Regions from separate parts of the Homo sapiens genome. Here all the other regions are linked to region 6. The links are contacts of gene promoters, found by promoter capture Hi-C in blood cells and fetal thymus (Javierre and others, 2016). All regions are on one chromosome and are shown on one strand. Each heading gives the region's core, a stretch centred on a gene start or on the middle of the fragment in contact. The rest is flanking DNA. Distances are from core to core; before and after follow the strand shown. Region 1 overlaps TRABD2A (TraB domain containing 2A). Region 2 has its middle 15 kb from the start of TMSB10. Region 3 overlaps DNAH6 (dynein axonemal heavy chain 6). Region 4 overlaps DNAH6 (dynein axonemal heavy chain 6). Region 5 has its middle 11 kb from the start of KCMF1. Region 6 holds the start of SUCLG1 (succinate-CoA ligase GDP/ADP-forming subunit alpha). Region 7 overlaps TRABD2A (TraB domain containing 2A).

Region 1 (2,700 bases), core at 27-2,526, 390 kb after region 6:
AGGATGGCCAAAATGACCATGGGCTGGGGGGAGGGGTGGCCAGAATGACCATGAGGTGGCAGGAGTTGCTAGCTTGGCTATCAGCAGCAGGGCCAATATGTCCTCAGGGGCTGTTGGCAGGGTGGAGGAGGGTGTTGCAGCTTGTACCTGGAGGTGCTTCCAGCACCTCAGCAAGAGCCACCAGGCTTTCCCCAGAGGGCAGCAGGAATGTGACAACTGCAAAGATGACCCATATGCCCAATGTAGGAGCAGCCAAAGGCCCAGTGATGAGACCTTTATCTCCATTGTGCAGAGTGACAGCTCCCTGAGTGAATTAGATGGAAGCCAGAGCCTCCTGGGCCAATGGCAAGACCAGAAGGAAATAAGGAAAAAGAAGAATAGATCTCCCAATGGGAGAAGTTTCCATTAGCCCAGGAGGGTAAAGGTCACTGCAGGACACAGAAGACAGGTCAATCTGAAAATCATCTCCTTAACCAGCTGTGGAACCACTAGAGAGGGCAAAAGAGGGTGTTGTGGGTTAAATTTTTCCCCCCACCCAAAAGATATGTTCATCCTAACCCCCAGGACCTATGAATGTGAACTTATTTGGAAACAAGCTCTTGCAGATATATTTAAGTTAAGATCATTAGGGTGGGTTCTAATCCAATATGACTGCGTCCTTATAAGAAAGGGAAATTTAGATACAGAAAGACAGGCACCCACAGGGGGAAGACCATGCAGAAACACCCACCGAGAACACCATGTGATGCCAAAGGCAGTGTGTTAGTCCGTTCTCACGCTGCTAATAAAGACATACCCAAGACTGGGTAATTTATAAAGGAGGAAGGTTTAATTGACTCACGGTTTTGAAGGGCTGAGGAGGCCTCAGGAAACTTACAACCATGGCAGAAGAGGAAGCAAACATGTCCTTCGTCACATGGCAGCAGGAAGGAGAAGTGCTGAGCAAAAGGGGGAAAAGCCCCTTATGAAACTATCAGATCTCATGAGAACTCACTATCAGGAGAACAGCATGGAGGTAACCACCCCCATGATTCAATTACCTCCCACCTGGTCCCGCCCATGACACATGGGGATTATGGAAACTACAGTTCAGTGTAAGATTTGGGTGGGGACACAGCCAAACCATATCAGGCAGAGACTGGAGTGAGGCTCCTACAAGACAAGAAACACCAAGGATAGGTGTCAACCACCAGAAGCTGGAAGGGGGGATTCTCCTCTAGGTCCTTCAGAGAGAACACTGACTGGCCAATACCTCAATTTAAGATTTCCAGCCTTGATGGGTGCAGTGGCTTACGCCTATAATCCCAGCACTTTGGGAGGCCAAGGCACACAAGGTCAGGATTTCGAGACCAGCCTGGCCAATATGGTGAAACTCCATCTGTACTAAAAATACAAAAATTAGCTAGGCATGGTGGCGCACACCTGTGGTCCCAGCTTCTTGGGAGGCTGAGGCAGAAGAATCACTTGAACCTGGGAGGCAGAGGTTGCAGTGAGCAGAGATCGCCCCACTGCACTCCTGCCTGGGCACAGAGCGAGACTCCATCTCAAAAAATATTTATTTATTTATATTTCATATATTATATATAAATATATATTATTTATATTTGAAAAAATAAAAATAATACAATTTTTAAAAACAAAAATACAGTATAACAACTATTTACATTGCATTTACATTGTATTATGTATTGTAAGTAACGCAGAGATGACAAAGTATTTGGGAGGGTGTGCGTAGGTTATATCCAAATGCAACTTGCCATTTTATAGCAGGAACTTGAGCATCTTTGAATTTTGGTATCCAAGTGGGTCTTGGAACCAATCCCCCATGGATACTGAGGGACAACTGTACAGGCTAGATACGAGTAAGCCCAACCACTTACAGTGGATGGAGCAAAAGCAACAGCAAACTTACCAAAACATTATGCACTGGGCACTTTACAAAGGTTCTCTATTTATTCTTTACTACAAACTGACAATGTTTGTTTCATCATACCCCTTTTAGAAATAAGAAAACAGACTCAGAAAGGTTCAATATCTCACCCAAGGTCACAATACTAGGAAATGGGGGAGCCAGGATTCAAACCCAGATCCACGGTCTCCAAAGTTGATACTCTCCACTGAGAAACTGCACAGAATAACAGGGCAATAGGCAGGAAGACTGGCCTTGGTGCCTCCCAGGCCTCTAAAGCCAACCTCTCCTCAGGCAAGACCTGCCTGACTGCCCAGACCCATGCAACTCTAAGGCAAGGAGAGGCAATACACCTACTTCTCCTGAATGCCCTGTCCTGGTTATGACAGCACCACCAGGTAAGATGCACAGACAGCCTCAAATTCACCCTTCCTGTCCTGTTAACTAATGCCCCTTGCCCCCCCAGAGATCATGGTGTCAGGTCCACCTCTGGGGAAAAGCTCCACAAAACCATCCTTGGATTACAGACCTTTCTCTCCTACTGGGTGTACCAAAGGTGTCAAATCACTGTGCCCTTCCTCTACCAACCCCTACCCAAACCACAGCCTCTGAAGGGACAGCCCTATGTAGGACATGATTCCACGTGCCCCCTCCCTCCCCAAGCCATGCCAGTTACACCTGAGTGGACACCTGACTCGATGATATGGCACTGGCTGAATCATCAGCTTTACATTCAAAGAGTACATCTACCCCACAGAATGGACTTTAAAATCGTCCACAAGCAGAAAATG
Region 2 (2,967 bases), core at 202-2,701, 460 kb after region 6:
CTGGGTTTTTGTTTGTTTTTGTTTTCTTTTTTTGTTTTGTTTTGTTTTTGTTTTGAGACGGAGTCTCTCTGTCACCCAGATTAGAGTGCAATGGTACCATCTCAGCTCACTGCAACCTCCCCCTCCTGGGTTCAAGCGATTCTCCCACCTCAGATTCCAAAGTAGCTGGGATTACAGGCACCTGCCATCATGCCCAGCTAATTTCTGTATTTTTGTAGAGATGGGGTTTCACCATGTTGGCCAGGCTGGTCTTGAACTCCTGACCTGAGGTGATCCGCCTGCCTCAGCCTCCCAAGGTGCTGGGATTACAAGCGTGAGCCACCACGCCTGGTCGTGTTTTTGTTTCCTGAGACAGAGTCTCACTCTGTCACCCAGGCTGGAGTGCAGTGGTGCCATCTCGACTCACTGCAACCTCCGCCTCCCAGGTTCAAGTAATTCTCCTGCATCAGCCTCCGGAGTAGCTGGGACTACAGGTACTGCGCCACTATGCCCGGCTAATTTTTGTATTTTTAGTAGAGATGGGGTTTCACCATGTTGGCCAGCCTGGTCTCAAACTCCTGACCTCAGGTAATCCATCCGCCTTGGCCTCCCAAAGTGCTGAGATTACAGGCGTGGGCCACCATGCCTGGCCAGACAGTCCAATATTTTTAAATCAGCCATAAATCTATGCACCGAATAATGTCTCTCTCTCTCTCTCTGACACATACACACATACACACATGCGCACGCGTGCACACCCACACATTGTTACCACTTAGAAGAGTGCCAGGCCCAGATGGTTTCACAGACGATTGCTTTCAAAGCTGCAAGAAAGCAATAACTTCAATACCTCAAAATTTGTTTCAGTAGTTAGAAAAGGACATATGCTTCCTGTGATGGTTAATTTTAGCTGTCAACTTGACTTGATTAAGTAATACACTAGTCTCCCCTTATCCATGGAGGGTATGTTCCAAGATCCCCAGTGGATGCCTGAAGCCACACATGTACCGAACCCTGTACACACCTATGATAACGTTTAATTTATAAATTAGGCACAGTAAGAGATTAACAACTAATAATAAAATAGAACAATTAAACAGTTGAACACAAGCACTGTGATGCTGTGACAGTCACTCGTAACTGAGATGGCTGCTAAGAGACTAGCTAACGGGTGAGTAGTGTATACAACGTGGAAACACTGGACAAAGGGATGAGTCACATCCTGGGAGGGACAGAGTGGAATGCCATGAGATTTCATCATGTTACACAGAACGATGAGCCATTTAAAACTTACGGATTGTTTATTTCTGGAATTTTTAATTTAATATTTTCAGACCAAGGTTGACCAGGAGTAACTAAAACTACAGAAAGCAAAACTGAATAAAGTGGGGAGTCGAGAACCTAGAGAGCTGGTAAAGCATTCTTTCTAGGTGTGTCTGTGAGGGTGTTTTCACAGGAGATTGGCATGTGAGTGGGTGGGCTGACTGAGGAAGATCTGCCCTCAGTGTGGGCGGACAACATCCAATTGGCTGTGGGCCCAGATAGAACCAAAAGGCAGAGAAAAGGCAAATTCTTTTTTTCTCTCTCCTGAAGCTGGGCCATCCTTCTTCTTCTGACCTTGGACATCAGAACTGCAGGCTCCCTGGCCTTTGGACTCTGGGTCTTACATTAGCAGCCCCCAGGTTCTTGGCCTTTGGCCTTGGACTGAGAATTACACTATCAGCTGCCCTGGTTCTGAGACTTTAGGACTTGAACTGAGCCCCACTGTGGTATTCCACGGTCTCCAGCTTACAGACAGTCTGTCGTGGGACTTTTCACCTCCCTAATCTCATGAGCCAATTCCCCTAATAAATCCCCTCTCATATATCTATATACAGTCGCCCCTCATATCTATGGGAGATGGGTTCCAGGTTATGTTGCCCAGGCTGGCCTTGAACTCTTGGGCTCAAGCTATCCTCCCATCTCAGCTTCCCAAGTAGCTAGGACTATCATATTCTTTTTTTTTTTTTTTTTTTGAGACGGAGTCTCGCTCTGTCACCCAGGCTGGAGTGCAGTGGTGCGATCTCGGCTCACTGCAAGCTCTGCCTCCCGGGTTCATGCCATTCTCCTGCCTCAGCCTCCTGAGTAGCTGGGACTACAGGCGCCCACCACCACACCCAGCTAATTTTTTTTTTTTTTGTATTTTTAGTAGAGACGGGGTTTCACCATGTTAGCCAGGATGGTCTCGATCTCCTGACCTCGTGATCTGACCGCCTCGGCCTCCCAAAGTGCTGGGATTACAGGCATGCGCCACTGTGCCCGGCCCATATTCTTTTTTTTTTTTTTTTTTTTTGGAGACAGAGTCTTTTTCTGTCGCCCAGGCTGGAGTGTAATGACATGATCTCAGCTCACTGCAATCTCTGCCTCCTAGTTTCAAGCGATTCTCCTGCCTCAGCCTCCCAGGTAGCTGGGATTACAGGTGCCCGCCACCATGCCTGGCTAATTTTTTGTATTTTTAGGAGACACGGGGTTTCACCACGTTGGTCAGGCTGGTCTCAAACTCCTGACCTCAGGTGATCCACCCGCCTCGGCCTCCCAGAGTGCTGGGATTACAGGCATGAGCCACCGTGCGCGGCCAAACTATATTCTTAAACACATTTTGTTCTGGCTTATTGCTGCATATCAAATAACTCCAAGACTTAGCGTCTTAAAACAATCACTATTTTGTTATATATCCTGTAGGACAGGAATTCTTATCTCCCTGCAGATAGCAAAATCCAGAGATGGTCAAATCCCTGCTATAAAATGGCATAGTATTTGCATATAACCTATGCACATCCTCCAGTACACTTTAAATCATCTCGAGATTATTTATAATATCAATGTAAAGGCTATGCAAATAGTTGTTAAACAGTATTGTTTAGGAAATAATGACAAGGAAAACAAAGTCTATACATGTTCAGTATAAAAGCTTTTTTCCCAGATATTTTCAATCCACAATTAATTGAA
Region 3 (2,700 bases), core at 117-2,616, 320 kb after region 6:
AAGGTAAGGACTCATTTTTATCCACCATTCAGAATCTCCACTATTTCCACTCTTTTGCTGTCAAATAAGAGAGGGCCTGCTTCCTGCTGGGCCTGTGGCTTATTTCTACTTAAATAATTAAAGAGAAATGACAAGGAGGTCTTCAGTACTGGTCAGGGGTCCCCAGTGATTAGGAATATAATTAAGAAAAAAATGCTAGAGAGGCAGCAAAAAAGCAATTTACTGTGGTGGTACTACATGAGGCTCCAGAATATGGAGATGCCATTCAGTTTCACTGTAACTAGGACAAGAACATTTGCCAGTTCTTCAAGGAGACTGGATCGGCTAATGAAGCCAGCTGAAGTTGTTTGTGTATTTTAAGTGCTTACTAAACTTAAGTGGATAGAAAAAATCCTCTTATGGCCCTTGCTATAATCATTTATCACCTAACCATTTAAGTTCTGATGTTTAACTTGAACCAGTAGGAAATAAAATACATTCAGGTAATAAGCTGAAAATACAAAAGGAAGAAAAAGAAAAAAAACAAAACAAATAAAACCTCAGAACTTGAAATCCTAACACCTCCACAGAGTTCTGCCCCACCACTTCCTGACTGTGCATGTCATATCTTTTTTCTGGGCCAGTTTCCCCAGCTATAAAATGACTACATGACATCATCATGAAAAGTCCTGTACTAAGATGATTTCTAAGATGCTCTTCTAGTCCAGCCCTAAAATTCTATGATGTCTATGAAAGTTAAGAAGCTTGGTGCTTTTGCAATTATAAGAACAAAAGTATGGAAAAAATCCTTCTCCAAACCTGGCCTTCTTCTTTCTTTGGTTTTTTGGTTACTGAAATCATTGGCCCTAAGACTTTGGTTGTTGTTTGACTTCTTTGCCTAATAGTTTTTACTATGCAAACAGTGTTAGTATTGCTCTAGAATTTGGTAGAACTAACTTTTAATTTGGGCTATTTAATGTGGCTTGTGAATTTAGATTACCAAACCAAGAAGCATGAAATCAGCTTTGACTTGTTGTCATTCATTCCATAAATAATTAAGGGCCTAGTGTACCATGTATTGTTCTAGGATATGTTGATAAACAAAAGAACCATAGATATTTGTCCTCGTAGAGTTTCCATTCTAGTTGGGGGGAGACAGACAATGAATAAACCACATGGTAAATAAGTAACGTATACGTTGTGTTAGAACATGGTTGTGCTTTGGAAAAAATAAAAAGGAGAGTAAGGTAAGGAGGACCAGAAAGATTGAGATGGGATGTGAGTAGGGAGCAAGGAAGATAGCAATTTTAAGTGGTTTAATCTGAGTAGTCCTCTTTCAGAAGGTGATATTTGACCAAGACATGAAGAAAGTGAGGGAATCTGAGGGAACAGCCAGTGCAAAGGCCCTAGTGAGGGAGCCAGCCTAGCATGTTTGAGAAACAGCATAATACGTACTTAAAAACCAATGCCAAGGAATTTGTCCTTGAATGATGCCTGTGTCTTCCTGTGATGGGAACAATGATTTTTCCAACTTTACTTTGGCCTTTTGAACCTACAGTGGAGCTCATTCTTTCTTGGGTCCTCTGTCCATATCTCAGAAAGTAAGTGCATTGACTTAACGTGCTAATGCCACACATGAGGTCTCTCCATATCCTGGCTCCCTTGTTTCCTTTGCAACTTTTCTGCTGAGGGGAGAATTTTCTCAGTAGGGGTTTTTGGCCATTTTCATGCAACTTGTGTTAAATTGAAGGGTCAAAAAATCCTCATGAAAATAAATACATGGGCAATAACTGCCCTCTTTTTCAACTGAAAATGTTTCCTATTTCAAAGATAAGGCCCTTAATAGTTCAGCAAGTATTAAAAATTATCGTGTTCCTAATTTATTTACCCAAATGTGCCTGCTTCTAGACTGCCAAACCTTCCTAACGTGAAGTTTCTAAAACAATGCATCTTACTCCCATTTTGAAACAGTTTACACTATACTTGTAATAGATTAACTAGATCTTTAAACAAAGCTTATAGCATTTTTTCCTTCTCTAGAAATAATCATGTCTTATAGAAAAGTGCTACTACCAACTAAACATTTTCCTTTTTTGTTGTTTTATCTTTGTTTTAAGCAGATAGTGCTATCAAGGACACTTTTCGACTTTTTTTAAGCTCCATGCCTAGTAATACATTTCCTGTTACAGTTCTTCAAAATTCTGTCAAGGTAATGTATGCATATGGTTGGAACAATGTGAAATGGTTGGTTTCAGAATATTCACCTAGTGCCTCCCAGGAGATCAGAGCCTGCACAGAAGCATGTGGAGGTCTGTGTGGCCAGCATGGGGAGGTGAAGTCAGTATCTTTTCACCTATAACAAGCAGAGAAACGATTTCCCAACCCCATCCTTGCATATTCTAGTCCTATGGGTCATTCAGCTCTCCCAGCCGTCACCCTCACAAGAAAATGTTAAGGGTACAGAGTGATAAGAAGAGAACCCCTTCTAGTGTTAAGGGAATGTTTCAGTATTTGAGAGACAGGAAGGCCTACAAGCCATACTAGTATGGCTGCTGGATTTCAATGCTGGAAGTTTATGATCTGTGGCAAGCCTCTGCATATGAGGAACAAGAGTTGCTTCTTCCCTCCCTGTCCCACGTCATGGGACATCAGGGGACAAACTATGGAACAATGCCCTATGTAGGGATGATGCAAAATTCAATGAGGAAACCCTGAGCATGC
Region 4 (2,905 bases), core at 119-2,618, 350 kb after region 6:
CTAAAAATACAAAAAATTAGCCGGGCGTGGTGGCGGTCGCCTGTAGTCCCAGCTACTCTGGAGGCTGAGGCAGGAGAATGGTGTGAACCCGGGAGGCGGAGCTCGCAGTGAGCCGAGATCACACCACTGCACTCCAGCCTGGGTGACAGAGCAAGACTCAGTCTCAAAAAAAAAAAAAAAAAAAAAAAAGGTCTTCCTGAATGATCACAAGAGATCTATTTTAACACTTTTCTTAGATCGATAGGAGATTTAGATGTCTTCATTATTCATGGTTGGAAGAGATGTCATTATAGGAAAAAGAAAATTGAGGCAGAAAAAACAGCAACTGAGTCCTGCTAATGCCCTTAAAGCCCCTGGAAGAAAAGGAGCCTTGTGGTTTCAGAAGTCAGTTATCTGCCTCCTAGAAGCAGGCCCTCAAGAGAATGTCTACTTGGGTAGAGAATTCTGTTGTTGAAGCAAACAGAGTCATTAAATATAAGATCAATAAATATAAGATAGAGTGCTGGTTGGGAAAAGGATGGAGAGATGAATGGATAGCTGCAGAGACCATGCACTTGTTTGGTAGAATCCCACTGACACCTAGGAGGGTTTTCTCTCCAGGCTTCATAAAGCTTGTACTTTTACTGTGAAATGCTAAGCAGATCATCTGCTGAGACTGAAGGGGCAGGAAAACAATTGGCTCAGCAAAAGAACTGAGGGTTTGAAATAGCCCTGAGAGGAATGGTGGAAAGAGAAGACCAGGGACATGTAACCACAGCACAGCGGACCCAAGAGATTAGACTCATTGGCACTGCTGTGGGATTTTTGTCCAGCAGCCAAATGTGTGTGGTCAAGAAGGAATTTGATACATGTATGTCATAGCCATTTGTTTACACATACTTTTCTCAAATACGCAAGAAAAAGGCTGTTCCTTCCTCTTTCGTAGCTCATATCGTTCTTCATCTGAGCCTGCATTTGGTGGATTGTAGGGAGAAAGAAGAGCTACATTTTCCATCCAGTTTGAACTATGGGCCTGTTTAATAATGCAGTCAGTCCCTTTAAATAATGCCCAGTAACATGCGATAAACACTAAGTCTCTCTCCTGTCTCAGTCTCCTGCCCCCAACCTTTCCTATGCAGTGCAGGTGAGCAGGGAAGTGGGAGATTTAAACGCTTGTATGGTAGAGGGGGAGACTTAGGGTCCCTGGGCCGTCTAGTCTCTGGAATGTTCCTTGTCTGCCAGGCAACCGCTTCATCCTGCTAGCATTTACCACTGAAGCCTTCAGGGCTCTGCCTCCCAATCAGCCAAAGCCAGGCACACCTTCCTATGCCCTCCTGCCAACCCCCTCATTCCACATTGGAGACCTTTCAAACCCCTCATCAAACTTGCAGATACCACTGAGCCATGCTGACCTTCCATTACATCCTCTTCCCTCTCAACCCCTCACCTCCTCCCCACAGTCAACCAGAATGAAAATAAGCAGGCTTCTCCTTCCTTTTTCCAGTCCTCCTTCTACATTAGCACAGCCAGTCTTTCTATGATCTCACTTAAGCAACAAGGACCTACCTCTCCTGTCCCAGGGCCATAGATCACATAGCTCACACTGGCTGGGAAGATGAAAATACCCATGGGGAACATGCTTTAAGGGAAGAAACAAAATGCAATGGTTTAATGTTTGAGAAAAAAAAGTGTATATATATGTGTGTGTGTGTGTGTGTGTGTGTGTGTGTGTGTGTGTATGCCCTGATACACTGATACACATGAATTTAAACATAATTTTCTGTGATTGCTTCTATATAAACACAGTTGAATCACAAAAGCATTCTAAATTATAGAAACATCACATTTAAATCCTATGTATCTGGCTTAAACAATGAGAGAAGCTGGCTTTTTAAAAATGTTAAGATAAGCACATTGCCTTAGCAATATTGTGAGAACAAATCAATGGTGACTGGCCTGAGGAATCGCTGTGTATGTTTCAGAAAAACTGGAAATGGAGGGTGCTTCTGAGAGCCTTTTTGTCAAGGATCTTCAAGGACGTCTGAACTCCTTGACCACCGTTCTTGGACAGGAAGTGGACCGGTTTAACAACCTGCTGAAGTTAATTCATGTATGAGAGCTTACTTTCATCATTGCTATTGAGCATCAAAGCTTTGTAGAGAGTTGTATAATATGAAATTCTTCCATTCCCATCACTTCAGCATTTCCATTTGGATACACTAACAACTCTTCAAGCCCAATGAGTCTAAAAATGAATTTATCCTTCTCTAATGAATCTGTATTCCCATTTTCTAATAATGATGGAGTGAATATGTAACATTACAAATTCTCAGTCTCCTCCTTATCCTTACACCCTTAGATTCTATTGACTCACTAGAAATTGTTCAGAGACCTAAGCACTCAATTAAGAGTAATTCAGTGTTTGTTCCTAATGTCTAGTTTGCATTTCATAACATAGTCTTTAAGCGAGACTGTGAAAACCATAATCTGTCAAAGTGTGGGCCACAGAATGCCTGCATTAGAGTCCCCTGTGGTGTGTTCAACATGTGGATTACTTGATCCCACTCAAGACCTACTGAGTTAGAATTTCTTGAAGCAGGGCCTGGGAATATGAATTTTAAATAAACTCCCCAGATAATTTTAATGTCACTAAAATTTGCAAACACCTGTTTGATCTTCTGCTTTATGTTCATAGATACTTTCTCTCTGCATTGCCTTGCATTTGTAATGATGGTCAAAGGCCTTCCTAGTTTCTCTGTGCATAACTTTGATAAGAGAAAAAGAATAACTATTAGAAAATATTGAGCATTGACAGGAAAAGTGTTACTGCTAAGCAGGGAACCAAACACCTACTTCAAGGTCAAGACTTGGGGATAAGATTGGGGGAGAACTGGGAGAGATCTTTTACAGCTAAAGACCATTTCTG
Region 5 (2,921 bases), core at 134-2,633, 500 kb after region 6:
GGGCCAGGGGCTGTGACTTAGCCTGTGTGTGGCTGAGAGCCTGCTGAATACAAGGTGCTGGCAGTTGGCAGGGCTTCCCAGGGTGGGGACTTCTTGCTGAGCTCATCAGCAGGCCCAGCTCTGTACCCATTTGTCCAGGGAAAAACCAACCCCTAATGGAACTGTTTGTTTTATACTCTCTCATCGAAGTCATAAATGACTCACAACTAGAATGTTATTAACGTGAGAACAGAGGCCTACCTGGCAGAATAATTGGTTTTGGTCATTTGCTCAGAGTGCCAGGCAAATCCACAAAGCATATCAAATTACAGGTTAGAAACCTGATGAATAAACAAGAATAATACTGTGAGTTCTCAAGGGTACGTCCTGTACCTGTTTTGCCCACTGTCATATCTCCGGCAAGACACAGTGAATACAGCCCCTGACACATTGGAGGTAATCTATAAAGAGTTACTAAATGATTAAAGAAAAGGGATGAGCTGTTCTTAGTGGAAACACCCATTTCTCCTAAGATGAATTCGCATTCTTTTGGACCAGTTCTTTCTAAATTAACAGCACTACCCAGTGGTATCAGAGCATCTATACCTTTGGATATTACAACAACTCTATAAATTCTAATTGCTTCTTCTTTTTTTTTTTTTTTTTTGAGACAAGAGTTTTGCTTTTTCACCCAGGCTGGAATGAAGTGGCGCGATCTTGGCTCACTGCAACCTCCACCCCACCGGGTTCAGGCGATTCTCCTGCCTCAGTCTCCTGAATAGCTGGGATTATAGGCGTCCGCCACCACGCTGGCTAATTTTTGTATTTTCAGTAGAGACGGTGAAGCCATGTTGGCTAGGCTGGTCTCGAACTCCTGACCTCAGGTGATCCACCCACCTCAGCCTCCCAAAGAGCTAGGATTACAGGCGTGAGCCACCGTGCCCAGCTGAGACGCTATAATTTCTAACCTATGGCTTCCCCTTTTCTGGATTCCATGCAGTCCACACACAAGCATTCTATGACTCATTACCTCCTGAGCATCCAGCTTCTTAACTGTTACATTCTAGGGATCTTTTCCACAGTATGTTTCTAACTCCTTGATGGTTTTTGGGGGAGACCTGGGTGACACACTTGGAACAGACCTGCTCCAGGGGCTTGTTACTTTGTGTGCATCCCGCTCCCTTCACTTTCAGGTGACCTCATTTTCTAATCTTCCTTAGAGCAACCAATCCCCCATACACTGTCTCCTTCTTCAGAGAATCTTTCTATGTGGATTTGTGCTTTTTAAATTGGCATATGAGTTTTAGGCACAGTTGGACCAGGAAATGCCTTCCTGAGGAATTCAGCAGCTTCTAGAGATAAAATGTGATAGAGCAAATTATGAGTCTGGGAATCAGGACATCTGGGTTCCAGTTTTGTACACATCATTCATTTCACAAATAAGCACCCAAAGCCCACTATGATAGCCAACTGCAGGGCTGTGCTACAAGTATGTAAACAAAGACACCTACTCCTGCCCAAGGGCAGCCCAGTGGGGGAAGTGAAAGGATTAAATTGCAATAATAGAGAATTGTAAAAGGAATTGGGAGCACTTAGTGAGGTGGTTCTACAACTTTATTGCACCATCAGGATCCCCACGGGTGTTCTTTCAAATGCCAATCTTTGAGCCCCATCCTTCAGAGATCCTGATCCGGTTGATCTAGGAATGCTCAGGGACATTGAATGTTTATTCTGAGCACCTTCCCTCCTCCCTCCACTCCCCTCCTGGTGATTCCACTGGAAGTGGCCCCAACCCACACTCTTTCCTTCAAGAAAAGGTTCACAAAGGCAGGGGTCTGGAGCTGATTTTTTTTTTTTTTTTTTTTCCCAAGAGACAAGGTGTTGCTCTGTCACCCAGGCTGGAGAGCAGTGGTGCAATCATAGCTCACTGCAGCCTCAACCTCCCGGACTCAAGTGGTCCTCCCATCTCAGCTTCCCAAGTAGGAACTACAGGCATGTGCCACCACGTCCAGCCCTTACAGCACATCCAGCTCTTACAGCTGATTTTTAAAGGAGGAAGGAGTACAAACTTATGAGGCACAGAGGCAAAAAATGGCATGATTTTACCCTACGCTCTAAGAAAATGAAGGCCATGAGGCATGAATACCACAGCTTCCTGACCTACCCAAATGGACACCTTTATCTCCACTGGCAATTTTTCTTTTTTGACAGAGTCTCACTCTGTCTCTCAGGCTGGAGTGCAGTGGCACGATCTCGGCTCACTGCAACCTCCACCTCCCGGGTTCAAGCGATTCTCCTGCCTCAGCCTCCTGAGTAGATGGGACTACAGGCGCGAGCCACCATGCCCAGCTAATTTTTGTATTTTTAGTAGAGATGGGGTTTCACCATCTTGGCCAGGCTGGTCTTGAAATCCTGACCTCCTGACCTCCTGATCTACGCGCCTCGGCCTCCCAAAGTGCTGGGATTACAGGTGCGAGCCACCGTCACTGGCCAATTTTTGTATTTTCTTAGTAGAGACAGGGTTTCACCATACTGGCCAGGCTGGTCTTGAACTCCTGACCTCGTGATACACCTACCTTGGGCTCTCAAAGTGCTAGGATTACAGGCATGAGCCACCGCACCCGGCCCATTGGCAACCTTCCTATAGCACCAGCAGAGGAAGAGGCATCCTGCTCCTGGTGGAAGCTAAATTTATCTGGGCTCCTTCTCCCCTCCATCTCCCACCCTCACCACCCCCACCTCCCTGCTCCACACACACATACACCCTTCAGTTCTCTGCTGCCTCTCCTGGATCCTTCCCCTAAACCTCTAAACACACTAGACTCTCCTATTCCTAAAACCAAAAACACTTCCCTTCACTCTGGGGCCTCCACTTACCATCTTTTAATTTCTCATTTATTTCTCTGACAAGCTTTTTTTTTTTTTTTTTTTTTTTTTTTTTT
Region 6 (2,700 bases), core at 189-2,688:
AACACTCTCAAGAATCTCCAGAAAGCTTTACCAAACAAACCATTTCATACTTGCTAACGTTATCTAGCCAGACCTTTGTCCTCAAGTGATTGGCAACTAAGTGTTAGCTATTGAGTGCACACTCATCAATGTACACTTTCAGAATGTAATCTTCTCAAGAAAGGAATTAAGTCTCATAAAATATTCAGTACAAGCAGAATTAAGAGCAAAGCGGAAAAAGAAAACTAACTTTGAGTGTTTGTTACATACGAGATGCTTTATATAAATTGCTCCACTTATTCTGCAGTGAACCCAGATCATCCTGTACATCATCATTGCTAAAATGCACATTTTTTTTCACTTTTTAAAAAACCAGGATACATGTGACAACCACTGGTGTGTCACAGTTTTAATAAGCAATCGTTCTTCATTGTTAGTGGTAAACAAAATAATGGTCCACCTTACAAGTGATGGTGCTTCAGGCCCCTTAAAATGTGTTAATATTTTCATGTGATTGGAAACACTGAAAAACAGATTAAGTGTCCAGGGTTATTACACAGACTGAAAAGGGACTAGCCAGACTTCAAACCCTGATGTGGCTGATTCCAAAGTTTCTTTCTACTATAACCTACCTGACAAGCACAGAGACTTTGAATATGGCAAGAATTTTCCATAGTCAGCGTGTCTCAAAGACTAGCAACCTTGGGTACTAAGTTTTCGGGAACGGATGTGTCCACAAATCGCCTGGTGGAGACACTGCAAATAAGCTGGTTTAGGTCCCAGCCAACCATAAGCTTCTAGTAGTCTATGCGGCTATGCCGACCCCACTCCGTGTGCAGAAACCATCTTTCCCTGACATACAATCCTGCAGAGGGGGAATTCGAAGTGCAGGACCTTTCCGTACTAGGGACAGCCTCATCCCCCAACTTCCTACTGAGACACTCTTCCTCTACCTCTCAACCCAGACCCTTACCTTCCCCACCAAGTTCACCTTGGACCTCTTCATCCCCAACTCCAAATAAGGCCAGTCTAGACGCCACCCCCATCCTGTCATTTGTCACCGCGGGGCCGAGAGCAAGCTCCCAAATTTGCAGGGCTCCCGGACCCGAATCCTGGCTCAGCCACCCAATATCTCCATCTGCCAGCGGCCTAAGTCATGCCCCCCGCCCCACGTATCCAGCAAAGCTCCTTCCACCGTAGGGGTCCCCGACTCGAAGCCGGAATCCCAAGCGGCTCCCAGGCCCCCGCCGAGGTCCAGCCCTGAGGGCCCAGCCGCGGCCTGGGCCAGGAGGTTGGGTCCGGCGGGGCCAATAACCCGCGGGCGCCAGGAAGACAGTACTGGCTGGACTCACGGAGGAAGCTGCGCGACAGGAGACGGGCGGCGGCGAGGCCGCTGCTGCCGGAGACCATGGTAGCGATGTCAGCGGCAGCGGCAAGGGTTGCGGTCATACGCCAATGACACTCCCAGGCCCCCGGGGACCTCCCAGGGGCAGAGGCCGGAGGAGGCAGAGGGTGGCCACAGCAGTCGCCTGAACAAATTTCCCTTTACAGAGGATTCTTCACGAAACAGCGGGAATGGCAGGTGAAGACAAAGAGGCATCCTATCGGAGAGGCAGATAATAACTCGGCTCCTTCCTAGAAATGTGGGTTTGATTAACATTAATTATAACAGCAGCTGAGGGAAAACCCCACGCGAGACTGGCCAGCGCGTGGCATTGTGGGCAATGTAGTCTGACGGCCGCGACTGGTTCGTAGCTTTTGAGTGAGGCGGCGGGAAGGGAGCGAGGGAAGAGCGGCAGTGAGACCGGGGAGACAAGGGACTTGAAGACTAGGAGGGAAGAAACAGCGAGGTGAGGTGCGAAGAGCAGTGCCAGAACTTTGTATCCCAGGCCCATCTCCTTCCCCCTTCGTTTTCCTCGTTTGCTATTAGAGAGAATAATATTTCTCACCGCGTACCTGTGCCTGGACCCGGAAGGGTTGCCGCTGGGGACGGGAATTCGAACTGGCACTGGTGGCCTGTGAAGGGAAAGATGTGATGAGAAAGACCAAAACCTATCTTACTGACAGTTAACTTCTTGGAATGTGAATTTTTTTAGTTAAATAATCATGCAGTCTTTGACTAGCACTAAGTGCATGAGTGTTTATTCCCTGAGGATCCTAAGGGCTGAAATTCGAGGTCAAATGTGACTTTGCTCCCTGATTGGACAAACAGTTCCCTCTTCTGTAACAGCTTTAGAAGGAACCTCAGAGAGTCCCAGAGTCAAAAGGTAAACAAGAGATGAAGTAATCTGCGTCTCTGCCGAAAATCGTGCTCCTGAGATTCCTCATCAGAATTGTCAATAAAATTGCAATCCTAATTTACTTAGGTAGTCATTATAATTGGCACTGAGCTGTGGGATGGATGAGTGGGATTACCCCAGGAGATTGCCCAATACTTCCTTTATGATCCAAATATTGTCATTAACAGGTTGGACTTCACTGCAAATAAACTCCTCCCTCATGGATCATGTTCTTGTGATAACTAAATTCCTCAGAGTTAAATAGTATCAGTGGTTTCCAGATATATCCATTATAACAAAATGGACATTTTTATGGCAAATAAATAGAAAATCCCTTGCTATTTTAAATAGCAAAATTATTCCTGAGCTGTCGCTTGATAAGTTATATGTTTAGTTTCATTTAATTGATAAAATGCATGATGACAAAAAATATAATTTCAGT
Region 7 (2,700 bases), core at 195-2,694, 410 kb after region 6:
GTTGTGCACATGTACCCTAGAACTTAAAGTATAAGAAAAAAAGAAAGAAAGGAAAAAAGAGACAGTGTTGCACACCTTCCTTCAAAGATACCTTGCTTGAGCTAATATTTTACTTCCAAGCTTTTTTTCCCCAATTGGGAGTATGAAAGAAGGCTTTGGCTCAGGTTAAAATGCTCACCAATTTCAAATTCATTCCGTCAAAATCAATAAGCCTTCAAATCAAAGCACCTTTCTTTTTCAAAATATTATATTAAATGCAGACATTGAAAAGGTTATAACATTGGCTCTTTGGGTTTCCATAATAATGCAAGAAAATCTTTCCCAGGAGATCAATGCAGACAATTAATGATCCCTTATCTTATCTATAAATCTTAGTGTGCCAAACAAATACTATAGCATATAGAATAGCATCGGATTACTTATTAATATTATAGAATTTTAGCAAGATAAATTCCCTAAAGATATCATTATCAACTCAGGAACATTATTTTTAGATTGTTACATGTCCTTACACCTTTTAAATAACAACCTTAGTTCAGTATGTCAAGATCTGCTAAGGCTGAGCTATTTGGATTAACAGTAATCTCAAATTCTGAGGAACAAAACCTCAACGTGACCCAATGAGAACATTTACAAAACAAGAACACTTTATTTCATATTGCAAGACTCCCATTGGTCTCCAGAAGTGTCTAATGCACTTTAAACAACTTTTATGGAAACAACTAAACCATGGCACTTTAATCAAGTATTACTTATGAGAATTGAAGAACCAACTTCTTGAACATCAAATTAAATTCCAATGCCCTGGGGTAGGATCCTTAAACCAGGGGTAAGAAGAGCATAACTCTGCCTAGGAAAGGAACTGTCCTGGGGCAGTGTCCTAAAGAGGGACAGTAGTGACCTCAAAGAGACTGCTGTCTCCTAAAGTAGCAATGGCCAGTATATTTTCAAACCAGGCCATGCCCTGTGACAACCAGTGTGGCATCCACATGTCCACAACGTCTCAAAGCAGCTTTTTAATGAAGGATCTGAACTAAGATGCATTTTAAAAGCACACAGTATGGGCCAGGCACAGTGGCTCACACCTGTAATCCCAGCACTTTGGGAGGCCGAGGCAGGCAGATCACTTGAGGTCAGGAGTTCGAGACCAGCCTGGCAACATGGCAAAACCTCGTCTCTACTAAAAATACAAAAAGTAGTCGGGCGTGGTAGCACACACCTGTAATCCCAGCTACTAGGGAGGCTGAGACAGGAGAAATGCTTGAACCCAGAGGGCAGAGGTTGCAGTGAACTGAGATCGCACCACTGCACTCCAGCCTGGGTGGAATGACTCTGTCCCAAAAAAAAAAAAAAAAAAGTACACAGTATTTGTTGGAATGATAAGAAAAAAACAAGTTTTTTTTCTTGGCAATACTCAAATAAGTGATATAACTGACCACTTGGCTTTTTTTTTAACCCCCGGAAAAGCATTTTTAAGCAAAGACAATTTCTAGACAAGCTGTGCCCGTGATCCATCACCTGCCCTGAAACTCAACAGATTCACCCATACAACCAAATGCCACTAAGTCTTTTATGCAAAGAGAGTCTTACCTGTGAAAAGTTCAACCCATTCAATGGATGGCACTGCTCTTCCACCTTTTCCACTGCCCCAGTCTGTTTCCTCAGCCGCTCAGCCTCCTGGGCAAGGAACAGGTCTAAGACAGGCACTCCACGGGACTTAATGTCCACTTCAGTCAGGGAGTTGACCATGAGCATCACCCAGACAGGCCTCTTGCGCTCCCAGTTTCCGGCAATAGCATTGAAGAGGTAGTCTGCGTAGAGCCCCTTGCCGCGCTGGTCTGGGGTCATCCACAAGGGCATCATGAGCTTGACATACTCCAGGTGGCGCTTGAGGCGGCAGTAGATGTCCCTGGGGAGCACATCTTGGAGGTTCTCGCCCTGTGGCAGCATCTGACAGCTGGTGAGAGCTGAGATGGTATAGGGGTCTGTGAGATCCAACTCAAAGTACACAATGCTGCTCTGCAGGAAAGCCTCCTTAGAGTTGTCGGGGATGAAGTCCCAAACTCGGGTGTACGGGACATGGATTGTGCCAAAGAAGTAAGATGGTGGGTCTCGCTTAATGGTCCACAAGAAGGAATTCAGCTCGCTTTGCTGAAAAGAAAAGAGGTAACATCAAGGTATAATATGGGGGAGAGGCATGGTCAGGAACCTGTGAGAGGAAATGAATCAGTCACATTTCAAGAGAAAAGATATCAAAGTAGAATTTAGACTTTTGAGTCCGTGTAGATTCACCTGCCAGGACAATCCATTGCCCTAAATAGACAGGAGCAAATTATGAAATCAGGGGCTCATTAGGACTCTAGTTTCAACCTTGGCTGTATGTTGGGATCACCAGCGGAGCTTTAAAAGAAGCATCTCTGAGTCCTACCTCCAGACATTCTGATCTGATTGGTCTGGGATGAGACTCAGCTTTTCAATCAAAAGGGGATGGGACCCCCTTTTCAATCAAAATGTTGATTCCAAGATGAGAAAGCAATAGCAGTCACCAGTTTTGAGATTGTGCCATGCCTGCCCTAGCAATGAACTGGGCAAGAGTTAAAGAAGTGAGTCTCAGGGGCCTCCAAGGATATACCTGATACCATCTAAGAGACACCTGAGAAGCCCACTGTCTCCCAGGCAGACCTGATGATCCCTGCTCTT

Evidence for each region. The method cuts DNA at HindIII sites, captures the fragments that hold promoters and counts their contacts. A CHiCAGO score of 5 or more calls a contact.
Region 1: a fragment that was not itself captured here is called in contact with the fragment with the promoter of SUCLG1 in region 6 in 6 of 17 cell types (monocytes, M2 macrophages, M0 macrophages and 3 more); the score reaches 10.2 in monocytes.
Region 2: a contact is called between a fragment that was not itself captured here and the fragment with the promoter of SUCLG1 in region 6, in 14 of 17 cell types (total B cells, fetal thymus, naive CD4 T cells and 11 more). The highest score is 10.9, in total B cells.
Region 3: a fragment that was not itself captured here is called in contact with the fragment with the promoter of SUCLG1 in region 6 in 3 of 17 cell types (total CD8 T cells, naive CD4 T cells and activated CD4 T cells); the score reaches 6.8 in total CD8 T cells.
Region 4: a fragment that was not itself captured here is called in contact with the fragment with the promoter of SUCLG1 in region 6 in 2 of 17 cell types (M0 macrophages and M2 macrophages); the score reaches 5.2 in M0 macrophages.
Region 5: a fragment that was not itself captured here is called in contact with the fragment with the promoter of SUCLG1 in region 6 in 6 of 17 cell types (non-activated CD4 T cells, naive CD8 T cells, naive B cells and 3 more); the score reaches 8.2 in non-activated CD4 T cells.
Region 7: a contact is called between a fragment that was not itself captured here and the fragment with the promoter of SUCLG1 in region 6, in 14 of 17 cell types (M1 macrophages, M0 macrophages, fetal thymus and 11 more). The highest score is 14.3, in M1 macrophages.

What each region holds. Positions count from the first base shown.
Region 1 is chr2:84,852,473-84,855,172 of GRCh38, forward strand. The region is part of intron 2 of TRABD2A (TraB domain containing 2A); the gene reads right to left. Among named protein-coding and RNA genes, the nearest start is that of TRABD2A, 27 kb to the right of the region's middle. The HindIII fragment of the contact is 5,384 bases long and covers 1-2,700 here.
Region 2 is chr2:84,918,850-84,921,816 of GRCh38, forward strand. No RefSeq gene overlaps it. Among named protein-coding and RNA genes, the nearest start is that of TMSB10, 15 kb to the left of the region's middle. RefSeq lists enhancers at 477-536, 516-1,715, 1,487-1,676 and a cis regulatory region at 1,028-1,616. The HindIII fragment of the contact is 2,952 bases long and covers 1-2,927 here.
Region 3 is chr2:84,782,623-84,785,322 of GRCh38, forward strand. DNAH6 (dynein axonemal heavy chain 6) reads left to right here. Exons shown (of 77, transcript NM_001370.2): 66 at 2,100-2,188. Among named protein-coding and RNA genes, the nearest start is that of TRABD2A, 97 kb to the right of the region's middle. The HindIII fragment of the contact is 1,251 bases long and covers 742-1,992 here.
Region 4 is chr2:84,806,454-84,809,358 of GRCh38, forward strand. DNAH6 (dynein axonemal heavy chain 6) reads left to right here. Exons shown (of 77, transcript NM_001370.2): 72 at 1,962-2,089. Among named protein-coding and RNA genes, the nearest start is that of TRABD2A, 73 kb to the right of the region's middle. The HindIII fragment of the contact is 1,519 bases long and covers 610-2,128 here.
Region 5 is chr2:84,958,365-84,961,285 of GRCh38, forward strand. No RefSeq gene overlaps it. Among named protein-coding and RNA genes, the nearest start is that of KCMF1, 11 kb to the right of the region's middle. RefSeq lists enhancers at 1-94, 95-785, 786-1,475, 1,476-2,165 and a silencer at 1-76. The HindIII fragment of the contact is 3,010 bases long and covers 1-2,888 here.
Region 6 is chr2:84,457,842-84,460,541 of GRCh38, forward strand. It overlaps SUCLG1 (succinate-CoA ligase GDP/ADP-forming subunit alpha), which reads right to left and starts at 1,439. Exons shown (of 9, transcript NM_003849.4): 1 at 1,332-1,439. The coding sequence starts at 1,428. It also overlaps a transcript of DNAH6 not described here. RefSeq lists an enhancer at 1,476-1,615 and a silencer at 1,796-1,985. The HindIII fragment of the contact is 6,917 bases long and covers 772-2,700 here.
Region 7 is chr2:84,868,635-84,871,334 of GRCh38, forward strand. TRABD2A (TraB domain containing 2A) reads right to left here. Exons shown (of 7, transcript NM_001277053.2): 2 at 1,591-2,151. Among named protein-coding and RNA genes, the nearest start is that of TRABD2A, 11 kb to the right of the region's middle. The HindIII fragment of the contact is 2,652 bases long and covers 119-2,700 here.